2 separate regions of the Homo sapiens genome follow, and region 2 is linked to region 1. The links are contacts of gene promoters, found by promoter capture Hi-C in blood cells and fetal thymus (Javierre and others, 2016). All regions are on one chromosome and are shown on one strand. The core of a region is centred on a gene start or on the middle of the fragment in contact, and the rest is flanking DNA. Distances in the headings are between cores, read along the strand shown. Region 1 holds the start of DELE1 (DAP3 binding cell death enhancer 1). Region 2 overlaps HDAC3 (histone deacetylase 3).

The links. The method cuts DNA at HindIII sites, captures the fragments that hold promoters and counts their contacts. A CHiCAGO score of 5 or more calls a contact.
Region 2: a fragment that was not itself captured here is called in contact with the fragment with the promoter of DELE1 in region 1 in 1 of 17 cell types (total B cells); the score reaches 5.6 in total B cells.

What each region holds. Positions count from the first base shown.
Region 1 is chr5:141,919,332-141,926,502 of GRCh38, reverse strand. It overlaps DELE1 (DAP3 binding cell death enhancer 1), which reads right to left and starts at 2,632. Exons shown (of 12, transcript NM_014773.5): 1 at 2,531-2,632; 2 at 1,808-1,922; 3 at 976-1,093. The coding sequence starts at 2,561. RefSeq lists an enhancer at 2,238-2,751. The HindIII fragment of the contact is 14,517 bases long and covers 1-7,171 here.
Region 2 is chr5:141,627,674-141,634,844 of GRCh38, reverse strand. It overlaps HDAC3 (histone deacetylase 3), which reads left to right. Exons shown (of 15, transcript NM_003883.4): 3 at 1-34; 4 at 4,720-4,801; 5 at 4,929-4,985; 6 at 5,106-5,161; 7 at 5,539-5,672; 8 at 6,206-6,286; 9 at 6,658-6,731; 10 at 6,888-6,952. Among named protein-coding and RNA genes, the nearest start is that of HDAC3, 5.6 kb to the left of the region's middle. RefSeq lists an enhancer at 547-676. The HindIII fragment of the contact is 184 bases long and covers 3,257-3,440 here.

The sequences.
Region 1 (7,171 bases), core at 1,383-3,882:
AAAAGCGAAGACTCTGCCCTATGAGACCTAGTGTTCACTAGTAAGAATCTGACCTTATAGATCAGGTTCAACAAATATTTTTGAGCAACTATTACGGGCTAGGCTCTGTATTTGATGCAGCAACCAAGCAGTAGAACATGAACTCCAGAGTTAAATCTGGCTCCTCCACTTAACAGGTATGAGACCCTACGCATGTTACCTAATATTTCAGAGCCTGAGATTCCTCAGCTGTAAAATGAAGGTGATATTTCCCTTGTAAGATTTTTGTAAGGATTACACAAGATAATGCATGTATAATACTTTACATTAATAAATAATGCTATAAGGCCGGGCGCGGTGGCTCACAGCTGTAATCCCAGCACTTTGGGAGGCCGCGGTGGGTGGGTCACGAGATCAGGAGTTCGAGACCATCCTGGCCAAAATGGTGAAACCCCGTCTCTACTAAAAACACAAAAATTATCCAGGCGTGGTGGCACGTGCCTGTAATCCCAGCTACTTGGGAGGCTGAAGCAGGAGAATTGCTTGAACCCGGGAGACGGAGGTTGCAGTGAGCCAAGATCATGCCGCTGCACTTCAGCCTGGGCGACAGAGAAAGACTCTGTCTCAGAAAAAAATAATAATTTAAAAATAAAAAAAATGAATAATAAAAAAAAGATGCAATGTATTATTATTTATTGTAAGATCCATGAAGGCAAGAATGTATCTATCTTGTTCTCTGCTATGTCCGTAGTGACTAGCAAAAATGCCTGGCCCAGACAAGGTGTTACATAAATGTTTACTGAATTAAATGAGGAAAACATACATGGCGGGGGTGTGGAAAGTGGCAATATCTCCTTGAATATGCTCCAATACCATGGGTTACTTGTTAAATGGACACAGTGATTCCCTAGCCCTTGTTCCAGGTTCGGCTGTATACCCATGAAGGATCATTCTCATCTACACTGAAGGTCAAGGACCAGGCTGGGGAAGCCTTACCCAAGATATGGCATCCCATAGGGTGTTCGGGGAGACACGGGAAGACATCCATTGGAAGGCATCCTTCCATCCATGGGACCTTGGACCCCCGCTCGTGCCTGGGCCATGGGGACCTGACCTAGATGATGAAATAAGAGGCTATCAAGTAGGGGCAAAGGGAGACCAGGGACTGGGTGCGGTGGCTCACACCTGTAATCCCAACAATTTGGGAGGCTGAGGTGGGTGGATCACGAGGTCAGGAGTTCAAGACCAGCCTGGTCAAGATGGTGAAACCCCATCTCTACTAAAAATATAAAAATTGGCTGGGTACAGTGGCTCACACTGTAATCCCAGCACTTTGGGAGGCTGAGGCGGGCAGATCATGAGATCAGGAGATCAAGACCATCCTGGCTAACATGGTGAAACCCCGTCTCTACTAAAAATACAAAAAAAATTAGCCAGGCGTGATGGTGCATGCCTGAAATCCCAGCTACTTGGGAGGCTGAGGCAGCAGAATCGCTTGAACCCAGGAGGCGGAGGTTTCAGTGAGCCAAGATCGCGCCACTGCACTCCAGCCTGGGCGACAGAGCGAGACTCTGTCTCAAAAAAAATAAAATAAAATAAAAATTAGCAGGGTGTGGTGACGGGTGCCTGTAATCCCAGCTACTCGGGAGGCTGAGGCAGAGAACTGCTTGAACCTGGGAGGCGGAGGTTGCAGTGAGCTGAGATTGCCCCACTGCACTCCAGCCTGGGCGACAGAATGAGACTCCATCTCAAAAAACAACAAAAAAAAAAAAATAAAAAAAAAGGGTGACTAGGGGAGGAAATGAGTGGTAAAATGGCAGTATCTTACCTGTCGAGGTTAGGCACAGGAACCAGCAAAGTGGAGGAGGTAGTCTGAGGCCCATCTGGGCTGGTGGACTTAGGAGTCACCCTCCAGAGGCTAGGTCCCAGTGTACGGGGAAGAGCTGTACAGAACAACCAAAACTCAGGCACCTCAACAAGAACCCAGGAATCACTGTCATCTGCCTCAGCAGAGGTTCTTAAACATGGATACACATGGGAATCTTTTATCTACTACAGATTCTAGGGTAGTACCCCAGAACCAATAAACTAAGATTTCTCAGGGTAGAGCATCCACGTTTTTTAAAAGCGCCCATGTGATTCTGCTGGTCTCCTGTGGATGCCAACCACTGTTCTAAGATGACCAAACGTTCATACATATACTCTCACTAATGTTTGGGGCTCTTTGACTCTAAACCTCTCCTCTCTTCACTGGCTATGCCTACTCCATTGGCCCCTAATCCTCTTTCATTCATTCAGTCCACCATCTCCTGCCATTGGACTCCTCCCCCTCCCAACAGTCCTACCAACTTCTTGGACTCCACCCTCTTCTAGCTAGGCCCATCCACATCTCAAATTCCAGCAGCCCCTGACTTCCCCGCCCTCTTTCAAGCCCCGCCTTCCTTGGCTCTAACCCGGCCCACGATCGCTTCGGCTGTTTCCTCGGGCCCGCCCCCACTCCAGTTCGGTCTTTGCGGCCCAGAGTGACGCTGGTTGCTTGGACGTCCCTTACCTCGGCCCAGGAGTCCCGGGAGGCGCCACATGTCGCTGCCAGCACCACAGAGAGCTCGCAGCCGAAAGCGCGAGACCAACCCTTGGGACAGCGGCTAGAAAGGCCGCCGCGATGCCCCGAGTGGCCGAGTACCCGAGGAAGCTCTGAGCTGGCCAATTAGAAGGGAGCCCGGCCGGAAAGACGGCGCTGCAGAGAGGAAGTGCAGGGCGGAGGCGTATTCGGGGCCAGCGGGGCGGTGACGTGCGGCAAGGGCATGGGGATGTGGGCCCAGGCTTCCGTGGGGGATGTCCTTGGCGTTCCCAAGCCGAGGCAGGGGACCGCAGGTGGCGAAGCGAGCCACCCGGAAGCGGGACCTTCGGGAAGTGGGGCTGGAGCGGCTTCAGGGAAGTAAGAGGACCTTGCAGACCGTGAGGCCGCGAACCAGGAAAGGCTTCTCCAGGCCCTAGGCTTGAGGAAGTGGGAGTAACCAGGCTCCATGGGCGGAGGAGAGGACCCCCGGGGTCCCACAAATGAAGCCAGTAGGCCGGGCTTCCGTCCAAGGCCACCTGCCTGGAGATGCCAGGCCAGGGCCCGACTGCGTAGGCGATGAGAAACCGCACAGGGCAAGGCTTTGATTCTGGGTTCTAGCTCCGGTCCAGCTTTATCTCACTGTGCAGCTTCATGCCAACCCCTTACCTTGTCGGGGCCCCAATACGCGCCAGATAGGGTCAAATGGAATGACTGGCCTGACAAGCTGAGATTCTTGGGTAGCTCCTTTCAAAATACCTGAGACACCACCCGCGCCCTATTAGAACCCTCGTCTTCAGACGTGGCAAAAGTTATGTATGTGTTTGTTCTTTTGTGGAAAAGAATAGTTCCGTCTGGTCCCGGTGGCTCACGCCTGTAATCCCAGCACTCTGGGAGGCCGAGGCGGGCGGATCACCTGAGGTCAGGAGTTTGAGACCAGCCTGGCCAACATGGTGAAACCCTGTCTCTACTAAAAATACAAAAATCAGTTGCGCGTGGTGGTGGGCGCCTGTAATCCTAGCTACTCTGGAGGCTGAGGCAGGAGAATTGCTTGAACACGGGAGACGGGAGGTTGCAGTGAGCCGAGATCGCGCCTGGGCGACAGAGTGAGACTCCATCTCAAAAAAAAAAGGAAAAAAAAATAGTTCCTTTCACCACATTTGAATCCGTGAAATAACGGAGCTTACATTCAAGTATAAGATGTTTAGATTTCCTCCCTATCCCCTTCCTCCAGGTATGTGACTTTAAGGTGAGTGGAAGTTGCTACCTGGGGTAAAAGTGTACTGGGGGCACCTACTTTTAGACCGAGGCATGTGGCTTGAAAGTTGTATTAATATGTTAGACAACTTTTTTTTTTCTTTTGAGACGGATTCTCTGTCGCCCAGGCTGGAGTGCAATGGTGTGATCTCGGCTCACTGCAACCTCTGCCTCCCAGGTTCAAGCGATTCTCTTGCCTCAGCCTCCCAAGTAGCTGAGATTACAGGCGCCTGCTACCACATCCTGCTAATTTTTGTATTTTTAGTAGAGACAGGGTTTCACCATGTTGGCCAGGTTGGTCTCGAACTCCTGGACCTCAGGTGATCCTCCTGCCTTGGCCTTCCAAAGTGCTGGGATTACAGGCTTGAGCCACCGTGCCTGGCCGTTAAAGAACTTTTGAGCCATATATCAGCCCGTTCTAGGATCTGAGAAGACAGCTGAGGAAAGAGCATTTGTGGCCTCCAGGAACACGGTCCAGTGGATTAGTAGTGGGCTTTGGAGTCCCACAAATCTGGGTTGGAATCACAGCTTGCTTACTTCGTAGGTATGTTATCTTGTGCAGGTTCCTTAACCACACTAAGTCTCAAGAGCTTCATCCGTAAAATAGGGAAAATACCTCATGCAATTGTTGTGAGGTTTAAATAAAATAATATGTTAAAAATGTTTAACTTGGTGTTTTGGGAATACCCTTCAAAAAATAAAAAATAAATAAATAAAAATGTTTAGCATAGTTCCTGGCACATAGTAAAAGCCCAGTAAGTGTAAGTTGCTATTAATTATATTAGTAGGGGAGGTAAGCAGGCAAGTGTAATAGGTTAGGTTCCCATAGAAGCATGAACAATGGATTGTGGGATCCCTTGGAAGGCTTCAGAAAAGTAGTTGCATTTGAGCGGGGCCTTTAAATGTGAATAAGAGCTTGCCAGGTGGAGAAGGAAGAAAGGCATTGCAAGCGGAGGAAACAATAAATAAAGGCCCAGAAGTTTGAATGTTGGACAACTATTCAGAAATAGCCTTGCTTCGGGATTTGGGACGGCAACCTTTCACATTCCTTGTGTTGCTGTCCCGAAAATAAAGTAACAAACAAGTATGCTGGTTTGGCTGTGTTCTTCCTCCTGCGTCTTTTGTACCCTCCTTCCTTTCAGACTATCCATAGTTTGTGTCATTTCTCAAGGTTCAGCCCAATCCCAGCTCTTCAGTGTAGACTCCTCAACTGTTTGAGCCCTCCCTGCTCCCTACTTTTCCCAATTCCTATAGCACTTAATTTCTTACTACACAGTTTAGCAGTAATTATATGCTGTCTTGGTATTTATCTCATTTGTGTAACTCTAGCCTTCCCAGTTCTCTCCTTTCAGGACAGGAATAGCATTTCCCTATTCCGTGTCCCACATAGGGCTTGACATAAATTGTCAGCCCAAAGAATATGTCCAAACAATCCCTGTTGACAGAACATCTTGTACTAATGATTATTACAGCCAAGGGTACCAGACCCCAGCCAGGGGATTTACTGATTTGAGTGGAAATGTATTCATTGCAGATACAAACATTCATTGAGGGCCCTCCCTGTTTGAAGCTAGTTGAAAAGTTTTGAAGGAGAGACTAGGACATCTGCCCCCATGTATAGAATGGCATTATGGCATCTCTTGTCCCCATAAACAGAAACATCAGACCACTTGTGTGAGGGTAGATGGCGAGGGTGGCTGGAGCCCACAGCAGATCACCTGTTGAGTGCAGCTCACGGGAGTGCTGTTGGTTGAATGGCAGCTGCCTCAACTGCCAGACCCCAAACTCTGTGGTTTTGGATTGTGGCTCAGTCCCTCTACACAGTCCCTCAAGTTGACTCAATCCTCCACAAAGGTAAACTGACACTGGGAACCTATTGCCTGCTGTCCAGTTAATCACCTTTCATGATGACTACACATGCCATTGTGTACTTTGTGTACTGTCACTACAGTGAGTATTCTAGATACTTGTTGCCTTCATTTTTGTAGGCATTCTTAATTTGCATTAATCAAATATATGACAGCTTATTTAGTGCTAAAGGATATGCTAAGTATATAACAATTTTAAAACATGGATGTGGGCAGGGCGCAGTGCCTCACGCCTGTAATCCCAGCTCTTTGGGAGGCCGAGGTGGGTGGTTCACGAGGCCAGGAGTTCAAGACCAGCCTGGCCAACATGGTGAAACCCCATCTCTACTAAAAAAAATACAAAAAATTAGGCGTGGTGGTGCGCATCTGTAATCCCAGCCATTTGGGAGGCTGAGGCAGAAGAATCACTTGAACCCAGGAGGCAGAGGTTGCAGTAAGCTAAGATCGCACCATTGCACTCCAGCCTGGGCGACAGAGCAAGACTCTGTCTTGAGGAAAAATTAAAACAAAACAAAACAAAACATGGATGTGGTCCTTGCCCTCACAGAAAATAGCCTAGGAGTGCAAACAAAGTCAGTAAGCAATTAAAATACAGAGTGGTGTTTTAGTTACTTATTGCAGCATAACAAACACCCCAAAATTGAGTGGCTTAAAACAATCATTATCTCTCACAGTTCTGCAAATTGACTGGGCTCAGCTGGGCAATTCTGCTGGTCTCACTTGGGGTCTCTCATGAGGTTGTAGTCAGATGGCAGTCATATGAAGACTCAAGTAGGGCATTGGAAAGGCTGGGCCTCTTTCTCCATGTAGTCTCAGGTCCCCTCTGCGCCACATGACCTCTCCAGCTGTGTCGCTGAACTTCTTACACAGTGGCTCAGAGCTTCCAAAAGTACACAAGTGGAAGCTGGCAGGAACTGGCATAGCATCACTTCTGCACTCTGTTGGTTAAAGCAACTCACAGGGTCAGCCCAGAATCAGTGTGGGAGGGGAAAACATAAGGTCACAAATACTGGGAAGTAGACTTTGGAGACAAGCAAGTGCTGTTGTGAAGAAAGTACAGAGTGCTATGGGAACACCCAGGGAAGGCCCATAACCTAGGCATGGAAGTCAGGAAGACTTCCTGGAAGCAGTGATGCTAAATTAACCTGAATGATGAGGCCTGGAAACTAACCAGGTGAAGAAGAGGAAAAGAAACCCAGTTCAGGCAGGGGACACAGCTGACTGATACAAAGTTCCAGAAAGGCAAAGAAAGCACAGTTTAAGATCACTGTAGCTGGAGCCGGGAGGGAGGCATGGAGTCATGGCGATGGGGTGGTGATAGGCCTTTAGTCTGGAGAGGTAAATAGCGCAAGGTCATAACGCCTTGTAAGCCCGTAAAACATTTGGACTCTGTCCTGAAGGCACGAGACATCTAGGAAGGGTTTTGGCAAGGGAGTGACCAGGCCAGAGGGATCCAAGAAAGGCTATTGGCTGCTGTATTAGTGGGGGTCAAGCCCTCATTTTCACCCTG
Region 2 (7,171 bases), core at 2,099-4,598, 290 kb after region 1:
AGAGTCTTAATGCCTTCAACGTAGGCGATGACTGGTGAGGGAGGACTGGGAGTTTTGATGTCTAACAGTTTAATGCCAAGCCCTTCAGTGAGGTCTTTTGGCAGCAGTGGGAAGATCTCAAGGGGGGCCTACTTGTCAATGCATCATAATTCATTTTATTTGTTTATTCAATAAATATTTATTGGTCACTTGTTCTAGGCAGGCCCTGTGCTAAGTGCTGGGAATGCAGTGATGAACAAAAACAAAATTTTAATATCGTATTTTTGCTAAGTCTTATAAAGAGGAGGTGTATGACAGATTATGAGAGTGTATACGTGGAGGATTGTTTAGCTTGGTGGAGTGGCTGGTCGGTGGGGCCTTCCTAGAGGAAGTAAAGATTGAGCTGAGATCTGAAAAAAGAGTAGAAGTAATCAGATGAAAGATGGTTGGAGGGTGAGGGGAGAAGTATAGCAGGCAGTAGGGACAAGTGCTAAGGGTCTGTGGTAGGACTGAGTATGACTCATTTGAGGAACAGAAAAAAGGCCAAGTGCAGAGTATGAAGAGGAGGTGAACTGAATTGAGGCTAAAGAAATAGGACCTTTTAAAAGCAAACAGCTCTATTATGAATTGGGGTTTTTACCCGTAGAGTAGAGGGAAGCTATCAAAGTGTTTTAAAAAGCAAGGGATCTTAAGAGGGCTATGGGCAGTTAAAAAAACAAAAAAAACAACGAAGGAGTGGTTTGATATCATTAGGTTTACATTGAGCTTGTATCATCCATAGAAGAGTCAGGGTTAGACCCTCTGGGGAAGAGAGTGGACAACAAAGATAAGCCACACTCTACTCTATATCCATGAAAAAATAGTAACCATCACAGCTACCAGTTGCTCAATTCTACTTACTTTTGTTTTTAAACTTTTTATTAGGGAAAATTTCAAAAATTTCTGAAAGTGAAGTAGTGCAGTGACCTCCCATACGTCCATCACCTAGCTTCAACGCTTATGAGCAAATGGCCACTCTTTTTTTTTTTTTTTTTTTTTTTGAGACAGAGTCTCACTCTGTAGCCCAGGCTGGAGTGCAGTGGTGCAGTCTTGGCTCACTGCAACCTCTGCCTCCTGGGTTCAAGCGATTCTCATGCCTCAGACTCCCGAGTAGCTGGGATTACAGGCGCCTGCCACCATGCCTGGCTAATTTTTGTATGTTTAGTAGAGATGGGGTTTCACTATGTTGGTCAGGCTGGTTTTGAACTCCTGACCTCAGGTGATCCACCAGCCTCAGCCTCCAAAAGTGCTGGGATTACAGACGTGAGCCATCGCACCCAGCTGAGCAAGTGGCCACTCTTACTTCATCTATACTCCCTCATGTTAGATTGTTTTAAAGCAGATCCTAGATGTTATATCCTTTTATCCATAAATATTTTATTATGTATCTCTAAATGATACTCTTTTAAAAAAACATAGTATCATTATCAAACCTAAAAAGTTAACAGTGATTCCTTAATGTCATCAAATATGGGATCAATATTCAAATTTCTGCAGTTGTCTCATAATTATTTTGTAGCTAATTTAAATCCAGATCTAAACAAGGTCTATACAGTGCATTTGGTTGATATGTCTCTTAAGACTTTTAATTTGTAGCTTTTCTGTCACCCCCTTGAATTTATTTCTTGAAGAAACCAGGTTGTTGATCCTGTAGAATTTCTTATGATAGCTACCATTTACTGAGTGCTTACTCTGCTAGGTATTATGCCAAGGGTTGCTGGTAAATCCACTTAATTCTCATACCAATCCTTAGATGTATTATAATAGACCTTTTTCTGATGTTATATATAAGTAAATTGAGGTTTGGGAATATCTAGGTAACTTAGCCGTAGTCACATAACTGGTCATTGGAGGGGGCATGATCCAGATCCCGGGTTTTTAAACCACTAATCTGTTTTCCTGAAAGATCTTAATGACAGAAGCAGCCAGGGCTGTAGGATAGAGGCCAACTCATTAGGCTGGCATTGGCACCTTTCCAACTTTATCCCTACACCTCAGCTGCACAGGATGCCTTCCTGGAATGCCCTTAGTTCTCTATTCAACCTCTTCAAGGCCTTCTCAGCCTTCACACCATCTCCATGAAACCTTTCTTGACCACACCAGCCCATAGAGCTCTGTCTTGCACACACTGCACTGCTCATTTGGTGTTCAGTCACATGCTGTTTGGGGAGGTTTCTTGTTTTTTTGTTAGTATTCCTGCTGTTATTTCTGAGCTCACTTTCTAGCTCTGTGAATACAGGGTCAGCCCTTACGCCACACTGGGGTCCCGTAGATGCTCTTTGTGCGATTAGGGAATGCTAATTAGAATACTATCTCTGGGCTATTTATGCTGCATCAGTCTTCCTGTCAAACAAGTTACAGTTGTGCTTATCTGTATTTCCGATGAGAATCAGGAATTTTTCTTCTGTTTAATGAATTTCTGATTGGTTTCAAAGTATTCTAACATAAGTAGCCAAATTGTACTATAGGCCTTTAAATGAAAAAAATAAAAAAGTAGTCCCAAGCCGGGCGCAGTGGCTCACGCCTGTAATCCCAGCACTTTCGGAGGCCGAGGCGGGTGGACCACCTAAGGTCAGGAGTTCAAGACCAGCCTGGCCAACATGGTGAAACCCCATCTCTACTAAAAATACAAAAATTAGTCATGTGTGGTGGCACGTGCCTGTAGTCCCAGCTACTCCAGGAGGCTGAGGCAGGAGAATTGCTTGAACCCGGGAGTTGGAGGTTGCAGTGACCTGAGATTGCACCACTGCACTCCAGCCTGGGCAACAGAGTGAGACTCTGTCTTAAAAAAAAAAAAAAAAAAAAATTCCAGACCTCTCCTTTTCACCCATAAATCCCTCTGCCCAGTGACAGCCACTTTCAGCTCCTTTCCCCTATGTCTTCTGGTATTTACCTTTGGATTTCTAAATAATAATATTAATTGACTGTTATTACTAATCTGTAATCCTTAGGTAATACCTGTTATATACTAGGTACTGTTCTAAGTGCTTTACAGCCATTAGCTTATTTAATCTCAACAACCCCTATGAAGCAGGGTCTATTATTGTTTCCTTTTACCGATGAGGACACTTAAGCACAGAAAGGTTAAACAGTTTGTACAACCTCACTATCATTAGTAGGTGTTAAAGAACCTAGGTAGTCTAGCTCCAGAATCGGTGCTTGTAATCATACTCCCCTCCTGTATTGTCTCTCATTGCTATTTCTTCGTCTGTCAATTTTAGGCATTATCTGTTAAGCTTTTAGTATGGGATATGAGCATTTAGTCTTCTTACACCATCACATTGGCTTCCTTTCCCCTTTCAGCTTCATAGTAATTTAAAAATAAATCAGTATTCTGTGTTTACATTATTATAACTCTGAAAGATTCATTTACTATCAAGCCAAATAGTGTAGTGTGATTTAATCTATTTTCTTCTAAAGCTTTTTGTTTTTCCTGGAGCTGACAATTGCATTATTTTTTCATTTGCTTAGTTTTCTGGTATTAATCACTAATTCTTTCCAAGCCTTTTGAGAAACTATAAAACCCTACAATTCTTGCTTGAACCCGGGAGGCGGAGGCTGCAGTGAGCCGAGATCGCACCATTGCACCCCAGCCTGGGCGACAGAGCAAGACCCCATCTCAAAAAACAAACAAACAAAAAACCCCTACAGTTCTGTTTTTCACATGGTCAAATGTATCAGCTGCACTATTTTTTTTTTTTGAGACCTAAAACTAGGGATTGCCTAAGCCTTTCCTTTTTAAAAAGTCAGGTTTATATAGGTATAACTTGCATACAGTAAAATTAACCTTTTTTAGGTGTAAGAGTTCTGAGAGGTTTGATAGAATATATCAAGGTATAGGGCCAGCGCCGATGGCTCACACCTGTAGTCCCAACAATTTGGGAGGCCAAGGCGGGAGGATCACTTAGGCCCAGGAGTTTGAGACCAGCTTGGGCAACATAGTGAGACCCTGTCTCTACAAAAAAAAAAAAAAAAAAGGTATCAAGGTACAGGAAATTTCCACTACCCAACAAAGGTCACTCACCCTTTTGTAGTTAATAACTTCTCTGCAACCTAGATCCAGCCAACTACTGATAAGATGTCTGTCCTTGTATTTTACCTTTTCCAGAATGTTACATAAATGGAGTCATACAGTAAGTAGGCTTTTGTGTCTGGCTTCAAGCCTTTACTTTTTATAAAGAATAACAATGGTAATAATTATAGCTGACATTTATTAAAGGCTGAGCGGATACTGTATACTGTGCTACAGGCTTTTCGTGGGTTATCTCATCACTGTTTCACATATGTAGGTATACAGTTCTTTCTTTAAAATATGTGACTGAAAAATATTATTGAACATTATGCTAAAATTTGTTACACTGAGAAGACTAAGAAAAACAGAGCTCATGTTTTCTTTCAACTGATTTCCTTTTTACATTGTACTTGAGTACCTGGAAGCTGCTTGCTTCTTTCCGCAGCTAGGATACAAACTCCCTGACAGTTAAGTGCTTCTTTACTTCCCATCCAGTGCCTTGCACAGGGCTTGGTACATGGTTTGGTCCAAAATATTTGTTGAATAAATTTGCAGATAGCCCACGTGTGTAGGAGAGGGAGAGAAGGTTCTTGAAAAATGGAGATTGGAGGAATCTAGGATGGGGAGGGAGATATGGGAAGGGCCCAGACAGAGGCAGGAGGGTTCCAACTTGTTCCTCTTCCCTGCAGCCCAGTGTTTCCCGGGCTCTTTGAGTTCTGCTCGCGTTACACAGGCGCATCTCTGCAAGGAGCAACCCAGCTGAACAACAAGGTGACATAGTCCCGAGTCCTGTTCTTCCTTTCCTCTGGATCCCTGGACTCGGGATTTAACCCTGATCCTGGGCTCCCAGCTTGAGGGGTGGGCAGGAAGGACTGTGACTTAGGTGTTTGTCTTTCAGATCTGTGATATTGCCATTAACTGGGCTGGTGGTCTGCACCATGCCAAGAAGTTTGAGGTGAGTGAGGAGGTGATGGGAAAGACAGTGGCCATCCTAGGGTAGGTGTTTAGGATGATGGTGGGGGGCAGCTGGGAGGGGAATTGCTCTTCTCTTTATGAGACCACTGTCTTGCCATAGGCCTCTGGCTTCTGCTATGTCAACGACATTGTGATTGGCATCCTGGAGCTGCTCAAGTAAGTAGCCCAGGAGGAGATGGGGGCAGTTACGGGATTCTTGGCTGAGGAGGTCTCTCAGTCTCAACCCTGACCTTGACCTCCCTCCTCCCTGATTAGCTTCTCCCAAGTTCTTGATGCTTTATTCAGGCTGCCTCTTCCACTGCTGCAGATTCCCTACTGCCTGCTCACATTTCAGCCTTCTCTGCATATCCCTCTCCTGTCCCTGCCTCTAGCCTCTAGGCTGGAGCCCCCAGTTGCCTTTAGGGAACTGGTGACATTAAGTTTCAGGTGACCAGGGCAGAAGCAGACTCTTCACAATTCGAGACCCGGTGTTTGAGAGGAGTGGGTTGGGGGGTTCACTTCTAGCTCAGACCCTGGCTTTGGCTTCCCTCTAGGTACCACCCTCGGGTGCTCTACATTGACATTGACATCCACCATGGTGACGGGGTTCAAGAAGCTTTCTACCTCACTGACCGGGTCATGACGGTGTCCTTCCACAAATACGGAAATTACTTCTTCCCTGGCACAGGTATGGGAATAGGGATTACTTTCCCCTTTGCACCCTTCAGCTCTTTACTATGAGTGCCTCCTTCTCAGCCTTCTAGTCTCATCTCAGGTGTCCCCTCCTCAGAGAAGCCTTTCCTTACCACTCCAGTTATCATAATCACCTCCTTCCCCATTCCTCTGTTACATCAGCCTCATTGTTTCCCTCAGAACACTCACTGCTATTTGTGTTTATTGTGGTTTTTTGTTTTGTTTTGTTTACTGCCTCCCTCCTCCTCATGGCTATTCCCTAAGAATATAAGCGTGGTGGGATATCGTAAATTTCATTAGTTCCATTCGTTGCTGCATCCCTACTGCCTAGTACACAGTTGGCTCAGAGTGGATCCCCCAAAACTATTTGCCCAATGAATGCAAGCTGCAAGAGATTTAGTGGCTCTAGGGAGTTTATGGTGAAGCTACATAGATGGAATGAGAGGCTCCCAGAGTGCAGATTGGGGCTGAAACAGCTGGGTTGTGGGTGCTTCCCATGTGTGGCTACCACCACCCACTTCCCTACAGGTGACATGTATGAAGTCGGGGCAGAGAGTGGCCGCTACTACTGTCTGAACGTGCCCCTGCGGGATGGCATTGATGACCAGAGTAAGTACCGAAGTCTTCCCTCTGTTCCCTAGGCCCCTTCTTTTTCTCCTTGAAATAACCTCTTCTGCCTGGTATTGTCTGCTGTTGGGCCAGTTGTCCTTAAGGATGAATGGCCTTCAGAGGGACCATGAATCTCTGGAAATTGTATGCAACATATCATGTGTATGTGCATTTTTCTGGGAAAAGTCATTGGCTTTCATCAGTCACTCATAGCAGTCTGGGATCCCTTCCAGAAGTTTCAGACCAGTGATTTGATTCTTTTGGGTGGCCCCTTTCCTGGGCTACATGCTCGCTCAACCCCCTTTTTCCTTTTGTTCCCTGTCTCCCCATCCCCTTGGGGTGCCAGGTGCCCATCTTTGGCCCTCTCCCAGGTTACAAGCACCTTTTCCAGCCGGTTATCAACCAGGTAGTGGACTTCTACCAACCCACGTGCATTGTGCTCCAGGTAATACTGTCAGTTCCTCCTCAGGAGTGTTCTGCCTGGGCTTGGGGAAAGAGAGCAAGGGAAGAGGAGGTTCTTTAGGTTGGTGGTGGAAGGGGTATCTGTGATGTTCTGATCAGTTCTGATCACTGCACTTTCCTGGGGTTTTGCTTTTTGCAGTGTGGAGCTGACTCTCTGGGCTGTGATCGATTGGGCTGCTTTAACCTCAGCATCCGAGGGCATGGGTGAGACTTGCTCTCCTTCTTCTCCCCAAGGTTTTTAAGTGGCCTTGGACTTCAGTACGTGGGTGGGGGTAGTTGGGGAATGGGCCTCACCTCTTCTTGGAAATCAAAAATAGCTACAAATTGTACTTGAACTAGAAATGTCATCTTGAACAGGGTTCCCTAGATGGTCATTCATTCACGATATATTTTTATTAAGCACCTGTTATGTTCCAGGCATCA